2 separate regions of the Homo sapiens genome follow, and region 1 is linked to region 2. Evidence: promoter capture Hi-C in human tissues and cell types (Jung and others, 2019). All regions are on one chromosome and are shown on one strand. Each heading gives the region's core, a stretch centred on a gene start or on the middle of the fragment in contact. The rest is flanking DNA. Distances are from core to core; before and after follow the strand shown. Region 1 has its middle 42 kb from the start of FAM240B. Region 2 holds the start of FRMPD1 (FERM and PDZ domain containing 1).

Region 1 (4,021 bases), core at 1,394-3,893, 1.1 Mb before region 2:
TCAACGATGCTTAGCTGACTTGTTTTCGTCCCATCTCAGTACACCTCCTACCTCTCCACACGCATGGTGATGAAAAAAAATTTTAACTAGAAAATTTTCATGTTGGCAAATGTCTGAAAAATCACCTACTCTGGGTCTACCTTTTACAAATGAGGAACCTCAGATTCAGACATCTGTATCTGCAGAATCTGGACATGTTGTTCAAGTAACTACGTGTAATTTAGAAATGTCTGGGGACTAGTTTATAAAGTATGCTAGGCCGGGCACAGCGGCTCACGCCTATAATCCCAGCACTTTGGGAGGCCGAGGTGGGTGGATCACAAGGTCAGGAGTTCGAGACCAGCCTGGCCAACATGGTGAAACCCCCACCTCCACTAAAAATACAAAAATTAGCCGGGTGCCTGCAATCCCAGCTACTCAGGAGGCTGAGGCAAGAGAATCACTTGAACCTGGGAGGCGGAGGTTGCAGTGAGCCGAGATCACACCACTGCACTCCAGCCTGGCTATAGAGCAAGACTCCATCTCGGAAAAAAAAAAAAAAAAAAAAGGGCCAGGCACAGTGGCTCATGCCTGTAATCCCAGCACTTCGGGAGGCCAAGACAGCTGGATCATGAGGTCAGGAGATCGAGACCATCCTGGCTAACACAGTGAAACCCCATCTCTACTAAAAATACAAAAAAATTAGCTGGACATGGTGGTGGGCGCCTGTAGTCCCAGCTACTCGGGAGGCTGAAGAAGGAGAATGGCATGAACCCGGGAGGCGGAGCTTGCAGTGAGCCGCGATCACGCCACTGCACTCCAGCCTGGGCGACAGAGCCAGACTCCATCTCAAAAAAAAAAATAAATAAATAAATAAATAATAAAAATAAATAAATAAATAAATTTTTTTTAAAAAGTGAAAGTGAGGCATTTATTGCAGGGGCCAAGCAAGGAGAATTGGGCAGGTCATGTTTAAGACCTGAACTCCCCAATGGCTTAAAATAAGGGCTTTTAAAGATAGGGAGGCAGAAGTTACAGACGAAGTCGTAAATCAATACATGAAGTCTCTACATTGGTTTGGACCCCAAAAGCCAAGTCATCTTCAAGCAGGTGGTGGGAGGGCCACAGGTCATAAGTGGATGCAAAGATGTTCTCCTCTGTGGATGGTTAACAGGTGACGCTTTGTCTAAAACTCTGGGGTCAGTAGAAAAGAATGTTAGCTCTGGCCACCAGGCCCCTCAGGAAAAAATTTATAACAAAGAAGAGTCAGAGTTCAGTCCCCAGTTCCCTCTTATCTGAGGTCCAAGAGCCATGGATGGCCTTTTTCATTTGGTGGGGTCCAGGTTTCTGAAAAACTACTCAGGGACACAGGTTAAGATGTTTTCTTTAGTTTCTGTAAGGCACCAAACATTTTGTGGCTGTAACTTCCTTGGGTATTGTTTGAAGCCACTATTACTTTCTTGCTTACCAAGTTGCTCATCTACTCCTCAGGACTAGCTGGGTGCCTCAACTTTCCCTTGAAGGAACTCAAGAATTTCCTTCATTTCCATGCTTGGGGGACCCGGCAGACCCCAAGAGGGATCCCTGCTCTGTCTCAAATGACAGAAAGTCTTCAAATTTTGTACGTCAAAATGACAATTAGCTAAAGTGAACTTGACAAGGGCTTCATATATCGAAACAGTATTTTCAAAAATAAAATAGACCAAAAACAGCAACAACAATTTTAAAAGATCACATCTTTCTATATTAGAAGCAGGTAATGTTAGATTCTGAGACAGGGCAAGGGCTAGTTACTATTTCGTTAGGCAAGAGGGCCGACAGCTCTGTGGCTGAAGCACATTGGAATGAAGGCCCCAGCCCCACCCAGCCCCTCTCTGGAGACAGCCGGGCAGCTCTTTGCACAGTGTCTGCCAAACAGCACATCAGTGTACGGCTCACCACGAAAAGATGCCAGGCAGGTCCAGCGGGGAGATTGAAAGTGGGGTTTTGGCAGCTTCAGAATTCTCGTTGTTTCAAACAGCCTAATAGATGTGCAAATTGAATTGAATCTCTCCGATGGGTCTGTGTCTGCAGAGAATCTGCAAGCTCTAAAAGGGGATTAAATTATATCAGTCAGAACTAGCTACTTATCTAATATGTTGGTTTTTAGTGGCAGTGGGTCCATGGCCAAATAAAATGGCACACTTGTTTTTTTTTGAAGGTGTTACAATTAATTGCCAGCAATAGAGCCTTTTTAAAAAAGTGAGACTTCTGAGACTTCTGGTTTTAGCTGCAACATGTAAGGAATTTAAAAGTTGTCACTACTGCCCTTACAATAAGAAAAAAGCTGAGAAAAATAGAAATTAATTACTTTTCTTGGACTTATCAGAGAATTGAGGTCACAGAGAGTGACCATAACCCCAGAATCTGGAGAGACAGACAAAATCACAGCTGAGATCAGCTTCCCGAGAGCAGAGGCTACTGGAGCCATAAACTAGCAGGAATACTAAAACGGTAATTGTGATGAATTGCTGTTGGCTGATTGTGGACCAGAGTGTGGGGAAGAAAACCCTGAAGGCTACAACATTGAGACGACCTCACTGCTTCTGTGGGTGTTACCTCCAGAAACCCCACCAGGTTCTCACAGTAAAAAGCAAAGAAACATCACTTCCTGCCTCTGTCAGTGGGAGGGAAAAAGTAGTGGCTTTGAAATATGCCCAGAGCATTTTCCATAACAAAAGCCTAGTCTCCAGGAGAAAAGATGTCACCAGAGCCTTATCTCACCTAGGAGGAAGGGCATTTCCCCCACTTGAGCCCCCTTTAGATTTCCTGTCTCATCAAGAGTGAGGGGTTGGAGTGGGGGACACACAAAACTTGTGAAGATCACATCCAGGGTCAGGAGTTACATAAAACTAAGATTTGATCCTCAGATTATAAACACTTACCCTCACTTTCTCTCCCCTATACCTTATCATTAATCAACAGGGCTCCATCACAATAATAGTGGAAAACAGCTGAAAAGGCCACAAAGCACAATTCTTACGAAAAACTAAAGACAATAGGAGAGAAAAACAAGGACACCAGAGAAATCTGAAGCCTTAGCTACAGCTACAGCAGGCACTAAACTCAGCCGGCTTTCAGCCAGATTAATAGAAAACCTCACACTACAGGCCTCTTTCCTTCGGTTCCTTTTGTCCAATATATCAAATGTGGCTTTCAACAAAAAATTATAGGGCTACTAGAAGTTAAGAAAAAACAGTCTGAAGAGACAAAGCAAGCATCGGAAGCAGACTCAGATATGACACAGGTTTTGGAATTATTAGACAGGGAATTTAAAATAATAGGCTCTGATGATAAAAGTAGACAACATGCAAGAAAAGATGGGTAATGTAATCACAGAGATGGAAAATCTAAGAAACAATCAAAAAGGAAATTATAGAAATAAAATAACCACTAATCGAAGTGAAACTGCCTTTGATGGGCTCATCAATAGACTAGATGTGGCCAAGGATAGAATCAGAAATCTTGAAGACATGTCAATAAAAACTCCCCAAACTAAAATGAAGAGAAGAAAAGAATGAAAAACACAAACAGAAAATAATATTCAGCAACCGTGAGAAGATTCCAAATGGTATAACCTAGCATAATTAAAATAATGGAGAAAAAAGATAGATCATTTTCCAAAATTAATGACAGACACCAAATCACAGATCTGGGAAGCTTAGAGAATACCAAGCAGGATTTAAAAAAAAAAAAAAACCTATGCCTAGGTATATCATGTTCAAACTTCAGAAAACCAAAACAAAGAGAAAATATTGAAAGATGCCAGAGGAAAAACACCTGACTCATAGAAGTACAAGGATAATAATTACAGTGAACTTCTGGCCAGAAATATGGGAGTAAGAGAAGAGTGGAAGTGAAATATTAAGGTAAAGTAAAAATAAAGAGGTGGAGAAAGATATACCATGATAACACTAATCAAAAGACAACTGGAGTAGCTGTATTAATTTCAGACAAAGCAGTCTTTAGAGAAAGGAAAATTATCAGGTTTAAAGATGAACAT
Region 2 (4,084 bases), core at 631-3,130:
AGCCTCTCTATTCCCCAACAGAACCTAAGCTCCTTGAGGGTAGGGCCTGTTGGTAATTTTCATGTTTGTGTCCTCTCGAATGAGTAGTGAGAAAGTGCTTGATGAACCAATAGAGAATGAAGAGGGAAAAGACTGGTGGCATTTGAATGCGTCAGAGAGATAAAAGGCTCTGGACAAATTAGCTTCAAGGATGGGGTCTCATTCAGGAAAGACAAACTTAGGTACCACAACTCTGCTCTGGTCACCAAGCACACCCTCACCAGCTCTCTGATTTCATAATGCTAGAAACTTAAAACCAGGATGTCGAGGAAGGAAATAAAATCATAAAATCACTTCTGTGAGAATCCTTTCGTGGTAATGCGTTTCACCCACACACTGGGGAGCCACTAATTGCAGCACAAGGGGAACAAGATATTGGGCAAAAGAATAAATTTCACTTTCTAGCATATCACAGTTAACTACCTCGTGCTTGTTTTGCTGTGACTGTGCCAGAATGCACCAGTCCTGGAAAAGATGAACTTGGCTCCTTAACCGTACCCATACTCAACACCGACCAAAGGATGCCCGAAATTGTCTTGATTGGAAATCATCTCAACCATCATCTTAGACTAGAAACAAGTAGATGCTGGCCTCTAGGTCAGGACCCCTAGAACAGTGCATTATTTTTTTTTCCCAAACAACCATTCTGAGGTTTTTACAAAAATAACCGACTCACAAACAGAAACGCTTCCTGATCTATAAGCCACTTTGAAAACAAATCATTATGTCGTTGAATATTTCATGACGGTCCAAAGCACTGAAGAAGGCGAACTGAGCGTTCACCAATCCTCCCCATGTCTATTTTGGGACTTCCAAAGCAAACTGCAAATGCCTCCTTTATTTTCTAAACGTTCATTTGCAAGTGCTAGATGGATTCTTGGTGAAATATTGCCTCCACCCAAACTGACTAAATGCAGAGATCCGGAGGTTCCGCTTCTCCAGAGTTTACAGCTGAAAGAGACAGCGAACAACTAGTGAACACGACTTCCACCCTATTTTATAGGTGGCAAAAGCAGGGGGCACTTGCCCAAGGTCACACAGACAGTGGGTGTATGGCAGAGGAGCCACCAGAAGCCAGAGTCCTGACTCCTAACCCTAGGGGCATCCCCTGCTTCCCGAGGCTGACTCAACGCCCCCACTAAAGCTCAGTCAAAGCTGCTGCAAGTTAGCGACGCGACCCTGGAGACTGACTTCTGTGGCTCATTCCTCTCCACACGCAATGAGTTCTGGAGCTGAGACACTCAGGGATGCCCCTCTACTCAAAAAATGACAACACAGGCATTGGCACTGCAGCTGATCGTCCCTGGCGAACCCCTTCTGGTTCAGGTGTGGCCATCGAGGACGGACAGAGAGGGTTGGTCTGAGGTCACTCAGAAAGTTGGCGCTGGCCGCGGCCGCACCTGAACCCAGGTCTCTCCCCCTCCCGCGTTGCCGCTGTTTCCACTCACTACACCATGCAGATCTCGGAAACTTAAGCACACATCGCTACTGTGCAAACAGTTCACGATGGCAGGTCCTGAGCTAGCCCACGGACGCGCCCCCGAGCCGGGCTTGGGGACACGAGGACCGGAGGCGGGCGCGGGTCACCCGGGACTGGTGGTGCAGGCGGAGGGCGGCGCGGAGGAAGCCGAGGCGCAGGCCCGGGGTGTGGGGACAGGCCGTCTCCCCAAAACTTTGCGGTGCCAGGACCCCTCCCTTACCTGCAGAGGAGGTGCCGCCCGCGCGGACAAGGACCTAGCGGGCTGACGCTCTCGGAGAAGGGCGGCCCCGCCCAGCGGCGGGCACGGTCGCGGCCAAGGCTCGGGAAGCAGCGCTGCTCGGGCTCGGCTCGGGCTCCGCCTCCCGCGCCGAGGCTGCAGCCGGAGGGGTTGGCCGGGCCGGGCCGCGCCCGCGCCGTCTGGCGGCGGCAGGTGCTGAGGCTGCAGCTGCGCGGCCGCCAGCTGCCGGCGCCGCGACCCCCGCCCCGGGGGAGGAGCCCCGCGCGCCGCCTCCGCTGGCTCCGAGGTCCCGGCCCGCCGCAGTGGGCGGTCCCGCTCCCACCCGGGCCCTGCCTCCGCCGCCTGCCTCAGCTCACCGCCGGGGCACGCAGCGTCCGCTGAGTACCCAGGGGGGAGACTGAGGCTGGGAGAGGAAAGGGACTCCCCAAGGTCACCCGGACCAGCGGTGGTTGGGCCAGAACTGGAACCCAGAAGAGTTCCCAAAACGACCCCCTTCTCACGCCTCCTTTTCCCCAGGAAGAGCCCCAGCTACGGGGAGCCCTGGGGGACTCGCCCCCTGACCCCCACGCCCCGCAGGTGTTCGGCTGAAGGGAGAGGGAGAGCGTGGGCCCACGGTAGGCACTGTGGACCACCTCCCCTGTCTCTGTAAACTCCTTCCGCGCTGGGAAACTGTGTTCTCCTAGCTTTCCTCGGCCCTCTCCAGCCACTCCCTCGGTCTCCTTGAGGGTTCCTCAAACCAGAAGCTCTAAAATGCCGGAGCGCCCTGGGACTCTGCACTCAGCCCTTTTCTGACCCCCTGAGCCGTCTCACCCACTCCCCTGGTTCTGGTCCTACCGCCTCTCTGAGCATGATACCCAAATGCATGTGTCTGTGCACTATTTTCCGTGCTGAACTCTACTGAACACCTACGAGGTCCATATCCTGCATTAGACACTGGAGATACAATACACCTTTAATAAAGCAGTCCCTGTCCTCATGGAATGTACAGTCTAGGACTATTAAAATACAGTCCAGTTCCTGTAACAATAACCCAATCCCACGGGGCCAAGGGCACCACTCAGGCCTGCACTGACTGAGTGAAGGCCTCCTGGAGAGGGCATGCTCTAAATGGAAACCTGAAAGGCCAGTGGAATTGGCCAGTGAAAGGGAGGAGTGTGGAGAGAGCCTTTCAGGTTGAGACCACAGGAACAAAGACCCCAAGATGAGAGAGATCCCACAGAGGGAGTGGCAGGAGTTGAGACATAAAGCAGGGGAGTCAGCAGGGGCCAATTCCTGGTCAAGGAGTTTGCACCGTGTTCCCAGTGCACTGGCAGGTTCATGGGAGGAGTTCTGAGTAGGGTTGAGGCACCATCAGACTGGGATGTTAGATCATTCTGGGGATGGTGCACAGGCAGATGTTAACAAGTGCATCCTTCATCCAAGGGCGGTGGGGGAAGACTAGCAGCACTTTGGAGCCAACATCGTCTGGATGAAGGCAGGTGCTCCTCCTTTGTGACCTTCATTTCCAAATCCAGGAGTCCATCCAGAAACTCCTGAGTGGCTCCATCGCTGAAAGACCTCCTACGTAATTGCACCCAAAGCTCCCTTTTCTGTCAGTGCCCCAGCCCTCTGCCACCCAGATCCACGGGCTGAGTGAGCCTTTTGCTTTCCTCACCCGTCTTTGTAGTATACAAAGTTCTGCCCCAGGAGACAGAAGCACCATAAGGGTGGAAGATTCTGAAGCCATAGTGGAAATAATGAAAGCTTTTTAAAAATCAAGTATTCTGGCTCTCTGAATTATTTCTTAACAATTGCATGTGAATCTACAATTTTCTCAAAATAAAGTTTAATTTTAAAAATTATTTTGTAGATAAAGATTAATCATCAAATTACTCTCTCCAAGGCAGTTAAACACCAAAAAGCATAGCACTTGTCAGAAAGTAAGATAAGAACTATTCTCTTGTCCGGTGAGTACAAATGTTCCCCATGGAATTTTGCCCTGTCCCCCTCCATTTCCTAGCTACCTGCGTCAGTGTCAGCCTCTCTAGGTGCCGGACCCAGCCCCTAACCCCGCTCTCCTCAGATTCTCATTCTGGTCCCTCTTGCCCCTCAGCCTCCTTTACCATTGCCCTCATGTCCCTCCTTGGCCTTTCTCCCTTCACTCTCACCAGGCAATTCTATCAGCTGCATGGTTTCAGCCAAACCTTCTGTCTTCCAAACCCAGAGACACAACTGCCTGCTGGACATCGCCTAAATGTCCCTCAGGTGCCCCACTCTCAACACAGCCAAAACCAAACCCACATCTTACCCCCAAATTACCCCTTTTGCATTGCTTCCCTATCTCAACT

The links. The method cuts DNA at HindIII sites, captures the fragments that hold promoters and counts their contacts. A contact is called where the count stands out against the background at its distance.
Region 1: a contact is called between a fragment that was not itself captured here and the fragment with the promoter of FRMPD1 in region 2, in 1 of the 25 tissues and cell types used here (dorsolateral prefrontal cortex).

The regions. Positions count from the first base shown.
Region 1 is chr9:38,760,124-38,764,144 of GRCh38, reverse strand. No RefSeq gene overlaps it. Among named protein-coding and RNA genes, the nearest start is that of FAM240B, 42 kb to the right of the region's middle. The HindIII fragment of the contact is 5,818 bases long and covers 1-4,021 here.
Region 2 is chr9:37,648,750-37,652,833 of GRCh38, reverse strand. FRMPD1 (FERM and PDZ domain containing 1) reads right to left here and starts at 1,880. Exons shown (of 16, transcript NM_014907.3): 1 at 1,740-1,880. RefSeq lists a silencer at 1,739-2,008. The HindIII fragment of the contact is 8,171 bases long and covers 1-4,084 here.